2 separate regions of the Homo sapiens genome follow, and region 1 is linked to region 2. The links are contacts of gene promoters, found by promoter capture Hi-C in human tissues and cell types (Jung and others, 2019). All regions are on one chromosome and are shown on one strand. The core of a region is centred on a gene start or on the middle of the fragment in contact, and the rest is flanking DNA. Distances in the headings are between cores, read along the strand shown.

Evidence for each region. Contacts are between HindIII fragments. The study calls those that stand out against the background at their distance.
Region 1: a contact is called between a fragment that was not itself captured here and the fragment with the promoter of ZC3H6 in region 2, in 1 of the 25 tissues and cell types used here (dorsolateral prefrontal cortex).

Annotation. Positions count from the first base shown.
Region 1 is chr2:112,429,918-112,436,928 of GRCh38, reverse strand. It overlaps RGPD8 (RANBP2 like and GRIP domain containing 8), which reads left to right and starts at 3,284. Exons shown (of 23, transcript NM_001164463.1): 1 at 3,284-3,547. The coding sequence starts at 3,476. RefSeq lists an enhancer at 1,718-2,696. The HindIII fragment of the contact is 7,995 bases long and covers 1,712-7,011 here.
Region 2 is chr2:112,274,347-112,280,496 of GRCh38, reverse strand. It overlaps ZC3H6 (zinc finger CCCH-type containing 6), which reads right to left and starts at 4,900. Exons shown (of 12, transcript NM_198581.3): 1 at 4,471-4,900. The coding sequence starts at 4,502. RefSeq lists a silencer at 4,131-4,610 and enhancers at 4,801-5,010, 4,626-5,198. The HindIII fragment of the contact is 17,114 bases long and covers 1,380-6,150 here.

The DNA.
Region 1 (7,011 bases), core at 4,460-6,959, 160 kb before region 2:
CTGCAGGCTGGGGTGGAGGTGCTCCAGGACTACCCCACAGCCCGGGGCCACACACCCCTGGAGCGATCCCTATCTCTGTCTGCGCCCTGGCCTCCTTCCTGCCAAGACCCTGACTGAGTCAATAGGCTTGACTTTCATAAACTGGCCAACAAGATTGAGACCACACTTGGAGTGGAAGATGGGGCCGTCTTAAGCCCTTGCCCCCTGCACGGGTCAGCCTGTGGCCAACGTTCTGGGCCGAGCCTCCTCCTCTTGCTCCACGCTCTTCCCACCCTGAGAGGGGCCTGGTCTGGGTGGGTCTCCTGGGACCCCCAGTGTTCGAACATGACCTGAAAAGCAGAAATGGAGGCTGAAGCCTTGGCGAGGAGGCCAGCACTTCCCAATCTCACCTTCCACAGCTGATGTGCAGGGCCGGGGGAGTGTTGGTAATCCTCCCAGGACACACGTGTCTGCATTTAAGGGTGTGCCTGACATGAAAGGAGATTTATTCAATGATGTTTGCTAAAGACTGGAAGCGGACTACTCAGGACCAGTGCGGTGGGTGCTGGGACCAGGGCAGTGGGATTTTGCAGTGGTGGAGAGAGATTTAGGCTCCACTCTGAATATGGCTCCAGCAAGTGGGATTTGATAGCCCAGGAGCAGAGTGGGGTCCTCGGATGGAACATCACTAAGAACAAACAGCAGGGGTGGGGGGTTCTGGCTGAAGGGAGGCAGGGTCATTCGTCATCACCTGGGTGCCCGAGGACGAGCAGGCTGCCCTGACGAGGATGATCAGATACGGGGCGGGGCAGTTCTGGCTGAAGTCACTTAGCAGTGTTCTTGCTAAAACCGGATTTTGCAAGGAAGTGTGCAGGTGGCCTAGAAGGTTCAAGGGCCTGATAGAGTTTGGCCAAGCAAAGAATCTCGTCACTGAGAATTAGAATCAAGGGCAGGTGGCTAAATAGTGCCTTGTAGATTCTCTCCAGCTTTTGCGGCCCCTCCCTCCACATCCTGCTCTGGGTAGCCCCTATCCTGCAGCCATGACCCAGATTCCTGAAGAGGGGATGACTACACAGGGGCCTGGATGCTGGGTGGCGGCCTCAGGGGCGGGAGGCACCGGGAGAGGCCTGGCCGGAGAGCCCCAGGGACCCAGGTCAGGTCAGGACCCAGTGTGTAGCGGAGCTTGGGCTCATGAGGTCAGAGCTGGAGCCACTGCACATCGTCTCCCAGGGCCGGGGCTCCCAGAGGACATGCAGTGTCTGCAGTTTTCTGGGGTGCCCCCGTCCTCCGCGTGGCACTCTGCGTGTTGGGGGGCCTATTGCGAGCTGCTCATCCTGGCTTCTTGGGAGCAGCGTGGCCTGAGCAAGGGAGGCTGCCCAGGACCGGCGCCTGTGGGGCGGGGCTGGTCACAGGGTCTTGGTCCCCGAGGGCTGATTCCTGCTGAATGCTTCAATGGCCAAGGGTGGATCCCTCTCCTTCCAGCCTGAGGCTGTTTCAGGAAGAAACAGTCAGGCCCCGGCAGGTTTCCCTGCCCAAGGGGAGAGTCTGAGGAGGGGCCGACTCGGCAGGTGGAGCAGGGGGCCACTTTCATCGAGTTTGTGTTCAGAACTCACTCCAGGGTCCTTTTCTTTTGGGGCCAGGCAGGCAGCACCGTGTGGGACATTATTAGCAAGGAGAGGAGGGGCCCGGGAGAGCTCACAGGGCGTTTTGGGAGCTCCGTAGACAGGCAGGTCCTGAGGACTTTTGGAAAGGATAGAACAAGGTCCCGGGCAGCTTTGTGGTGGTCGAGAGCGAGGGAGGAGGTGGCCTCCCTGAGCGTGGATGGCTGGATGCAGGCCCCAGACCCAGGGGCAGAGGCCGAGAAGGGAAGGCGGGGGCCCAGGGACCACACTTGGCAGGGTGGAGGGGGCAGGGGGAGCCACTTGCTGGGGAAACTTCACCGGATGATCTGGGCTGAGGACGCGCGAGTGTGGAAGAAACGGCGCCTCCCCCGTGCCAGATGCTGCCCACCACCGGCACAGGGCCAGAGTTGGGGTCAGCAGGGCAGCCGTGTGCCCCCAGTGGGAGCTTGGAGGTCACGGAGGAAATGCGAGACCAGATGCAGGCAGGGGAGTCCTCCGGAGCCTGCAGGAGGGGGCCGCTGGCTCAGGGGCACCGGGAGACCCCCACATGGACAGGGTGGAAAGGGCTTTCTTCAAAGCCAGGATCTTGTCCCCATCACAGCGTCCCGCTACGCATTGGGAGCGCTTGCTGCCAGGAGGCTCCCCAGTCCCGCAGCAGCCCCTCAGCGGCTGCCCTCCAAGGAAGGGGCGCACAGACACTCCAGGGCTCCACAGCGCGCGGGCCAGGGGCCCCATCTACCCCCGGGGCAGCGGGACTGGGCGTGAGCCCGGCCTGGGACACAGCCCCTGCGACTGCACCATTGTTAGGGGCCTTCTCGGAGCTGGCAGACCTAGAACCAGGCCTAGGGGGTGGGGGTGTGCCTGGATGTGTGTTGCGGGGGTCTGAACCCTTAGTTAGGACCGGGGGCCCTCCTTTCCACTTCGTGCAGTCCCTGGGGTCTGGGGCATCCTAGCCATGCGTGGGGCCTCCCTGCTGGGATTGGAGACCCCCTGACAGCTGGGGCTGGTCCCAGCATTTTCGCTCTTCCCCCAGAAGGACTCAGATGCAGGGTCTTCTCTGCTCCCCGTCACACAGAGGGTGGCACCCCCGATGGGAACTCTCATTTATCACCAAACCAGAAGATAATGGAGAAACTGACAGAGAAGGGCTGCAAGCAGCTACCGCAGGGCGGTGTGTGGATGCAGATGGGATGGGCAGATGGAGGCGGGGGCCAGCATCGCTGCCTTCTTGCCCCTCCCAGAGGACCCCAGGTCCCCAGCTCGGGCGCCCCACCAGACTGGTAACACCTGCGTCTGCTGTTTGGCACCGGGGGATGAATCACTTGCTTTTCTTTCAACAGTGTTCTGTAGTTTCCAGTCTACAAGTCTTACACTTTTGGGTTAAATTTATTCATAATTATTTTATTATTTTTGATAATATTATAAATGGAATTGTTTACTTAATTTTACTTGAATTGTTCCTTGCTGGTGTATAAGTAGACATCTCATTTTTTTTAGTTGACCTCGTATGGTACAATCTCTTTGAACTCATTTATTATCACTGATGGTTTGTCTTTTTTTTTTTTTTTTTGAGCTTTCATTAAGGTTTTCTATAGATAAGATCATGTCAAGACACCCTCAGACCACAGGGCGGCGCCACCAGCCCGGCCGAGTGCAGCTGGAGCGCCGACGTCCCCGAGGATACACAGTGCTGAGGCAGAACGCAGGTTCGTCACAGTGGGCCTCCGTGGGCGGCGCCGCACGCTCGTCACAGTGGGCCTCCGCCGGCTACGCCGCTGCTTCAGTGGCTTGCAGGCACTTTCCTCTTGGAAGTGGCGACTGCTGCGGGGCTGAGCGGTGCTCGCACGCGTCTCGGGAGCCAGGTTGGCGGCGCGATGAGGCGCAGCAAGGCCGATGTGGAGCGGTACGTCGCCTCGGTGCTGGGTCTCACCCCGTCGCCTCGACAGGTGAGTGGGTCTGGAAGAGAGCGGCGGCCTCGACCCGGCCGGGCGGCGGCGGCCTCGACCCGGCCCGGCGGCGGCCTCGATGGGTCAGGGGTCATGGCTCCCGACGGGCGCTGCTCCCTGGCGCGCTCTGTTGAGGCGGCGGCCTCCACCCGGCCCGGCGGCGGCCTCGATGGGTCAGGGGTCATGGCTCCCGACGGGCGCTGCTCCCTGGCGCGCTCTGTTGAGGCGGCGGCCTCGACCCGGCCCGGCGGCGGCCTCGATGGGTCAGGGGTCATGGCTCCCGAGGGCGCTGCTCCCTGGCGCGCTCTGTTGAGGCGGCGGCCTCGACCCGGCCCGGGGGCGGCCTCGATGGGTCAGGGGTCATGGCTCCCGAGGGCGCTGCTCCCTGGCGCGCTCTGTTGAGGCGGCGGCCTCGACCCGGCCCGGCGGCGGCCTCGATGGGTCAGGGGTCATGGCTCCCGAGGGCGCTGCTCCCTGGCGCGCTCTGTTGAGGCGGAGGCCGGCTAGCGCAGTCCTGTGGGCGGCGTGGCGCTTGCAAGCGCAGGAAGAGTCCTGGGGGGACCGCGGCGGGCGGGAGACCTTTGGCGCCGGCTCTTCCTCTTTCTCCCGGTTTGTTCCCGACGGTGCTCGCTCGTGGGCTCGCCCTGGCCCGGGCTTTCTGGCCCCGTAGTACCCGCGCGGCCTAGTTCTCGGGGGCTTGGGCACCCGGGTGCTGTATCGGCGGGTTTCTTCCCATGTCCTGGACATTTACTTTATATGCCGCGGCGGAGGTCGTACCTCCTTGGCCTGGAGGAACCCAGTGGGGACTGACGCAGCTCCGGGTGAGCTTTGGCGGCTGCGTCGAGTGACAAGGTAGGCATCTCAGCGTGGACATTTGCAATGGCCCGATGGCACAAATGACACGGAAAGTCCCCTTGTTTTGAGTATGAGGTGTTTGTCGCTGTCCCTTTGTAAGGGTCCAGCTCCACTCCACTCCTCATACTCACCTCCCTCGCCCCCCTCCCCGCCCGGAACACTTTGGTAGCTGCCTTTGCTTAAAAAAAAAAAATTCTAAAGTTCTTACAAATCGTTAGTATGGCTTACAATTTTTAACCTTTTCCACAAGTGTTTTTAGGGTATTTTTCCTCTTTACAGGTAAATAATGTGATCTATTTTGGATTCAATAAGACTTTAGTCATTGGATCTAAAGAGTGACGGAAGAAGCTATTAAAGGTGGATGTGCGCAGAATCTTGAGTCAGTTTGCTTTGGCTTGAATAATCACAGCACTGTCGTTTATAAGCTGGGTATTTGGGGCCACTTACACTTTTCATCCATAGATGGAGTTGTAACATTGATAGAATTTGATAGGATGATCCATTTTAAACATTTAGGTTATTGCTTGACACATAGCACTAAATGTTAGCTACAAGTCACTTTTTATTGTTGATGTTAAAAGGATATTGGCCGGGCGCAGTGGCTCACGCCTGTAATCCCACCACTTTGGGAGGCCGAGGAGGGCGGATTGCCTGAGGTCAGGAGTTCGAGACCAGCCTGGCTAACATGTTGAAACCTTGTCTCTACTAAAAATACAAATAAAGTTAGCCGGACGTGGTGGCGCACGCCTGTAGTCCCAGCTACCTGGGAGGCTGAGGCAGGAGAGTCGCTTGAACCCGGGAGGCGGAGGTTCTAGTGAGCCGAGATCGCGCTACTGCACTCCAGCCTGGGCGACAGAGGGAGACTCCAGAAAAAAAAAAAAAAAACCAGAAACTCACGGATGACCATGATTATAATAGTAGCATAATTGTGTCTCTTATCATAACTAAGCATAGGTTATCTTATTTTGCGCTTCCAGCAACCCTGTGGATATTGAGACCTGTAGAGATTTAAGATACTTGTTCAGGGTCAAATGGGTAGTGCAGCAGAATTTTGGCAGTGGGTCTGATTTAGTTTCTCTTGGGAACAGTGCAGTAAGTTACAGTCTATTCCTCCAGAGAAGGATAGATATCTACTTGTACGTTGTAATTTCAAACTGCTAGCATAGTATAAATATGAATGTGATGGTAAGAGTCTAAAACAGACCTTAATTGAGGGTTCCTGTAACTCCTGAAATTAAAGACTTTAATTTTTGTGTTATTTTATTTTTTTTGAGGTGGGGTCTCACTCTGTCACCCAGCTGGATGCAGTGGCACTATCTCGACTCACTGCAGCTTCCGCCTCCCCAGCTCAAGCGATCCTCCCACCTCAGTCTCCCGAGTAGTTGGGACCACAGGTGTACCCACCACACCCGCTGTTTTGTTTTGTTTTGTATTTTTGGTAGAGACTGGGTTTCACCATGTTGCCCAGGCTGTTCTTGAACTCCTGGGCTCAAGTGATTTCCCCGCCTCCACTTCCCAAAGTGTTGGGATTATAGGCGTGAGCCACTGCACCGGCCATTATTTTGTTTTTGAGACAAGGTCTCTTTCTGTCTCCCAGGCTGGAGTGCTGTGGCGGGATCGTGGCTCACTGCAGCGTTGACGTCCTGGGCTCAATCCGTCCTCCCACCTTAGCCTCCTGGGTAGCTGAGACTACAGGCATGCGCCACCATGCCCGGCTTTTTTCTTTAATGTAGAGACGGGGTCTTACCATGTTACCCAGGCTGGTCTCCAACTCCTGGGCTCAAGTGATCCTCCCGCCTTGGCCCCAAGTGCTGAGATTACAGGTGTGAGCCACTCTGCTCAGCCTGATTTTTTTTTTAAACAAGCTTAAAAAAAAAAAAAAGCAACCTTAGAGCCTTTCTGAGATTCTTAGTGGGGACCTTGGCTTCCAAAAGATTAAAAACCACTGGTCTAGACAGAAGTCAGAATGTTCTTTCAACTACATAACTTCTCCATTAAATAAAGTGGAGTGGTAGCAACATTTTGACGATTGGTTATTATGACCACCTCTCTTACACTTAGAGTCTTTTTTTCCCCCCCAAATTTAAAGTCATTTACATTAGAACCTGGGGATTTCAGCGGAATATGGATTAACTAGTGAGTAACTGGAACATGTGAAGCTATTCTGTAAAGTTAGGTTTGAGTGAAATGACAAAACAGGGTGCTTTGGATAGAAGGTAAAGAATGGAGGGAGAAGAGGCAGTGGCTGTGAAGAATATGAAGAGGTTAGTATTCTCCCCCAGTTTGGCAGAGGCTGGCCATCTGTGAACTGCCCATGCCTTCTAGAATGTCGGAGTTTTGGTGTGTGATGATGCGTCTGTATATCATATCTTTCTAGTCTTCCATTGTGCTTTCATTTGTTAGTCTTCTCTTGTTTTGCCATTTTTCTACTCCCTCACATGTGCTTTTGCCCTTCTTAAAAATATTCTTCGTCTGTAATCCGAGCACTTTGGGAGGCCGAGAGACCAGCCTGACCAATATGGTGAAAATCTGTCTCTATTAAAAATACAAAAATGAGCCGGGCGTGGTGGCAGCGCCTGTAGTCCCACCTACTCGGTAGGCTGAGACAG
Region 2 (6,150 bases), core at 3,651-6,150:
TAGCAGAGACGAAACACTGTTAAGTCTGAGGAATGAAAATGTAATGAATGAAATTTTATAATGAATGAAATATTTGTTTATGAGAGGTTGGGGGAAAAAAAGAGTCTTCCTGAGAGTCAGAGTGCTTTACAACATCAAACCTGAGACCTGATACGAGGTTTTACATTTGCTAAAGAAAAATTTCCTTTAGTAATTTCAACAATAGTTAAATTAGTGGATTCAGGAATCAGAAGTAAGTTAATGGCTAGTCAGGAAAGTTATTTACTCCACGGAACATACTAATTTACAAACCAGATATTGTGTGGAGCAAAAAGTGTACTCTAATCTGAGAAAAGGCATCTGCAATTTTTTTAATTAAAATTGATTTAAGTGGGAAGGAAAATTGAAAATGATCTAGTGCAACTACTTCATTTCACAAATGAAAAAAATAATGAAAAGGGGAAGAGCATTAACCCAAGTTAGAAGATCAGGATCAGTACCAAGGTTTTATTCAAAATGAAGGGCTCTCTCTCAAATGTAGCACATTACAATTCCAAACTACTCAAGGATTAAAGCCCAGAACTTATTCCATTACTTTGCTGTGCAAACTTAATGAAGAGTGAAGATAATATTGCAAGTAGGAAAATAATATTGCAAGACTGAAAATAATAATACCTGGGTTCTTATCTAGGTTGTATTTATGAGATCTCAGACAATTCACTGAACCTTGTAATGCTACCTTAATTAACTACCACATGGGATTAATGTGAGAATCAAATGAAAGCCCTGTTGCAAATGAAAAGTATAATCATCTTTTCCATCCTCATCCTTTCAGGTTCTCCAGTGCAGTCTCTTAGCAAGTTTTCAATCTATATGGGGGGCCATAAACCACTTGCAATTCTGACTAGTTGGAGTTTTGTTGTTCTTGTAGTACAGGACAGAAAGCTGCGAGGGAAGGGTGGGGAGGTTGTTTATGTATTATAAACCTCCTCCCAAAGGGGAGTATTATCCATATCACCTATCAGTTAAAGACTCTTTGAGACTCACAAGCTCTTAAAAGGTTCATGCTAAAAAATTATCTTTTTCCCCAGTACAAGCCCTACAAAACCTTTTACCATTAGTATATTTCAGAAAATTCTGTAACAATTACTTGGGTTATATTTATCTTTTCCTACTCTACTACAGATGTGTCCAAAGCAGGGACTCATAGTATTTCGTCTTCAGGAGTTGTGAATTGTTTTAATTGGGTCAACATCCAGTTGAAATATAAAACTGAGCGGCTGGAGTCGTGCCTGAGAGAACTGAATGAAAAAGAACTGAACGACGAGAGACCAGAATTATACCTCCCTCTGATTTCCCTAAATCCCTAAAGACCTTTAGAAACTAGGCTCTGGGCTTATGCAAAAGTCCTCTACTACATTCTACATAGCCACAAGTAGAATTAGAAGTATTTTTATATTAATAACATCTTATAAAATACAATGTTTTAACTCCAGGTGTGAAAATATTTAAAGGAAAGTACACTAAATGGATTTTTTTTAAATTATTCATTTGGCAAACAATCTTGTGCAAAATGTTCACTATATAACATGTACAAGGCCAGGCGTGGTGGCTCACGCCTGTAATCCCAACACTCTGGGAGGCTGAAATGGGAGGATGGCTGGAGCCCAGGAGTTCAAGACCAGCCTAGGCATATAGCGAGACTCTATTTCTTTAAACGAGAAAAAAATTATGCATTCTGTGAATTCCATTTACATTTAGAATCTCATTCTCATAAACAGTAATATTTTAATTTGTATAAAATCAAAGCAATTGTAAATATAAATCATAGGCTTCATTTTTTTTCCTGCATACACAATATGCCTTAATTTTTGAAAATGTTATAAAAAGAATATCCTTGGCTGGGCACAGTGGCTCACCCCTGTAATCCCAAAACTTTGGGAGGCCAAGGCTGGTGGATCACTTGAGGTCAGGAGTTCAAGACCAGCCTGTCCAACATGATGAAACGTGGTCTCTACTAAAAATACAAAAAATTAGCCAGGTGTGGTGGCGGGTGCCTGTAATCCCAGCTACTCAGGAGGCTGAGGCAGGAGAATGGTGTGAAGGCGGGAAGTGGAGCTTGCAGTGAGCTGAGACAGTGCCACTGCACTCCAGCCTGGGCGACAGAGCGAGACTCCGTCTCAAAAAAATAAAATAAATAAAATAAAATCCTTGAGACAAAGCCTAGCTCCATATACCAAGTTTCATATATTTTTCTCCACTTAATTCACAGAAACTTTTATAACAGCATAAAATAGCTATTATATGGAAAGATACAGTATTTTGGAAGCCCGCAGATTAGTCCATTTTTTCCCCAAATTTCTTAAGAATTTCCCAGGGAGCCTATGAAAAATACCCTAGAGATTCTGATTCAGTTGCTCTGGGCAGAACAAAAATTTATTCCCCAAAGTGATTCTGATGATTAACTATCATTGGGAAACACTGATCGAGTATAGCGGTTCTCAATTTGGCACATATTAGAATTTCCTGGGGAGCTTTTAGAACTCTTAAAACCCAGGCTGAGGTCCAGACCAACAGAAATAGCGCCAATACTTTAAAGAAAAAAAGTTCCCCAGGGAAGGTTTAGAACCATTGATCTGATCTTGTAGAATTTCTCCTGACTTCTAGTTCACTTTGTTTTTGATGTAGTTGTTTTGTTTTTCATGTGGGTTGACAAAAAAAGCATGAAAAAAAAAAACCATCTCCTTCATCTCAGCACAATGATGCCACTTAACAATTGGCTAAGTTAAAGTGGAGCTAACCTTTTTGTTTCAGAAATCACTAGAAAATACTTTTAGTCCGAATTTTAAATAAAATAGACTAATCTTAATCTTTAGCTCCTACTACCAACCTATTAACATATCTTACAAATAATTCTTTAAAGTTTTCTAACCTCTAAACCAGTATTTTAAAATTTCAAATTCTTTAAAAGGTCTGTCATCACAGTTCCTTACCAGCAAAATTATTTTGATACTTGAATTTGATGGCATTGTTTTTTCATGATGTACAATACATAACTCCATATATAGAAGTTACTTTGTGCACTAAGAGAGGGGAACAGATATTCTTCCATATTAAAAAAAAAAAGGATTTTAGGCTCCATTAGCAAAACCCCATCATTGGTTTGTCCATACCTCAAGAGCAAGGTATTAGTCAACCCATTCTAAGAATTTCCTTTTTAATACAAAAGATAACGTTAAAAAAATCATTAAAAATGTGCCAAGTGCAAGCTTATCATTTTTAAAAGTGCATTTTACTTTCCAAAAATTTTTACACTTTGATTGACGTGCCCTCTGGGAATCTACTTTTATTATTACAATACTGAAGTTGTTGAAATACCATTTTTATCCCTCTCAAGATTGCTAGGTATTTAGATATTTCAAATTTCAGCAGTGTTTGTGATTTTTGCTTCTGGGTTTTAAAAAACGTGTTTAGGATGCTTTACCAAGCCGATCACATTACTACAGATAAAACTTCAGCAATGTATATAGTCTATAGTAAAACGTATATTTTTTCTTACTTCTATTCACAAAGGAGTAATTGTGAGGTTCTAGATTTTCAAATTAATATTCTAAGTAAGAATCAGATGCAATGGATTTTGTTTCAGTAAGTTTAATGAATGAAAGCCCCCCTTTCGCATTATTAAAGATATATACGAATGAAAATTTGAATTATAACCAAAATTTAAGTATGCTACAGTATACTTTGTAAATGTCCCCAAACTCGAATGGAAACAAGAATGTGCCTCTTAAGGCACAGAGCAAAAAATAAAAAATCAGAATCTCAATATTCAAGTGATACACACCATCTAGAAAATTGGGCTAGCCGGAATAATCCATGGAGTTTTTACGTTAGGGTAAAACTGTGCTAAACTAAGTTTCTGCAAAGCCTAAGTATTTTGTGTTAACATATTAAACTTGAAACTTGCCATCTCAAATTCCAAGGGATAAGACTGTATACAACAGATGGCCTTTTGGTGCTGCTTAAAACTTCCCTGAAAACCAAATGTTTATTTTTTTAGAGGTGTTCTCGGTTCTCGGGAAGCAGTCAAATATCAAAACACCCATTCCTGAAAATTCCTGGCTGGTCCTATCTGGCCGGGAGCACCGACACCTGGACGGGCAGAAGCAGGACCTCAGCACCGAGCCGGGACGCTGAGAGCCGCCCGGCGCACACGGAGCCCGCCCGGGGGGCGGGGGGCTCGCACGTGCCCGGCCGGGGGCGGGGCCGGCGCTGGCGAGCAGCGACCCCGGCTCGGGGAGGCGGGCGCGGCCGGGCCGACCTCCCCCGCGGCCGCGATCCAGCAGTTTACATAAGAGTGCGCGTCATGGAACTGACGGAGCCACACAGAGACGTCTAGGTCATGCAGGAGGCGCCCGGCCCCGGCCCGCTCCCGCCGCCCCAGACCCCTCCTCTCATCCGACAGAAAGACAGACAAGAAGGGTTCCCGACCTGTCGTGCCCTGCATGTTCAGAGTCTGTCATGTTTGGTCAAGAACGGGGCGGGGCTGGAGGGCAGGTCTGCGAGGCCGGCGGCGGCGGGGCGCGGGGAAGACCCCCCGCGCCGCCTGCGGGAACCTGCTCCCGGCCGCCGCCGACAGGTGACGAAGTGGTAAAAACTCACGGTTACTAGTGAGCGACACAGACACAGACTTTCCAGTCTATTAACAACCACGCCAGAGAGATGGGGCTCTAACTGCAAACACTGGGCAACGGCCCCGCGCTGCCGGCGCTGCCGCTCTAGTCTCTATTCGCCGCCGGTGGCTGTGGCGTGGGAGCGGGCGGGCGGCGTGCAGCGACGCGGGGATTTGGACAGTGGCCGTAACGGTGATTTCTCCTCACCAACATGGCGGCACCCGAAACAGGCGGCTCGAGAAAATGGCGCCGGCCGCAACACCTTGCCCGGGACTAAAGGGCAAGAGAGATTCCTCCGCGAGCCGCGGCCCTTGCCCAGCCCGCCGGGGCCGAGCGCGTTGACCATTGGAGGAGAGTGCCCGTCAATCACCTGCAGGGGCGGGTCTTCGCCCTTCTCTGTGCAGCGGCGGAGGCGGCAGCCTAGTGGCGGGGCCGGGCGGCGAGAGACGCGGCCGGATGGCTCCTCGAGTGTCTGCAGGAGGGGGAGGCAGCCCACGGGACCTACGAGGGCCACCAGCGCTTCTGCTCCCGGCGCAGTACGGGCCGCGGTTTTTCCTGCGAGACGCCCGCCGCCCGAGGAGTTCCAGACGCACCAAGCAAACGGGCCCCAAAACCGTTAGCCGAGGCGGGCAGGGGTGGGATAACAAAGAACAAGGCGGCTGTAGAGTCCTTAAATTTTTTTGTGAAAACCTTTGTTCTTGTAATAATAGGGAAATGCAGTTTCTCCTTCACAGTTGTAGCAAGTATCTGTTTTTGTAACGTTTAGTGTTCAGAATCATGTTTTAAGGAAAATAGCTTGCCATGCAGTTTTTTCTTGTATTTGCTGTTAAATTTACCCAATTATTACTTAAATAGGAATAGCTATTGAAATAATTATATAAACGTTACTTTATTTCGTAATAATATTAACATGTAAAATGTATGCGAGTATTTTATAAATACTATTAGGCATGCCTTTTTTTTTTTTTTTTTTTTTTTTTTTTTTTTTTTTTTCTGAGATGGAGTCTCCTCTGTCGCCCAGGCTGGAGTGCAGTGTCGCGCTCTCGGCTCACTGCAACCTCTGCCTCCTGGGTTCAAGCAATTTTCCTGCCTCAGCCTCCCGAGTAGCTGGGACTGCAGGCACGCGCCACCACGCCTGGCTAATTTTTGTATTTTTAGTAGAGATGGGGTTTCCCCATTTTGGCCAGGCTGGTCTCGAACTCCTGACTTCAGGTGATCCGCCCTCCTGGGTCTCCCAAAGTGCTGGGGTTACAGCCGTGAGCCACCGCGCCCGACCATGCATGAGTTTTTTATACTTATGAAGTGACCTTAAAAAATTTTTAAATGACAAGTCAGTGTTTTGGCCTATTTAATATATTAGTCCTGAAGGAAAGTTCCTTGCTTTTTACTAAAATGATAGACTCAATGATTAATCCAAATATCTGACTTAATTTGTCTTTCCTTAATAATACATTTTACTAATACATAAATGGAATGCATTCAAAAACAATTGCAATGA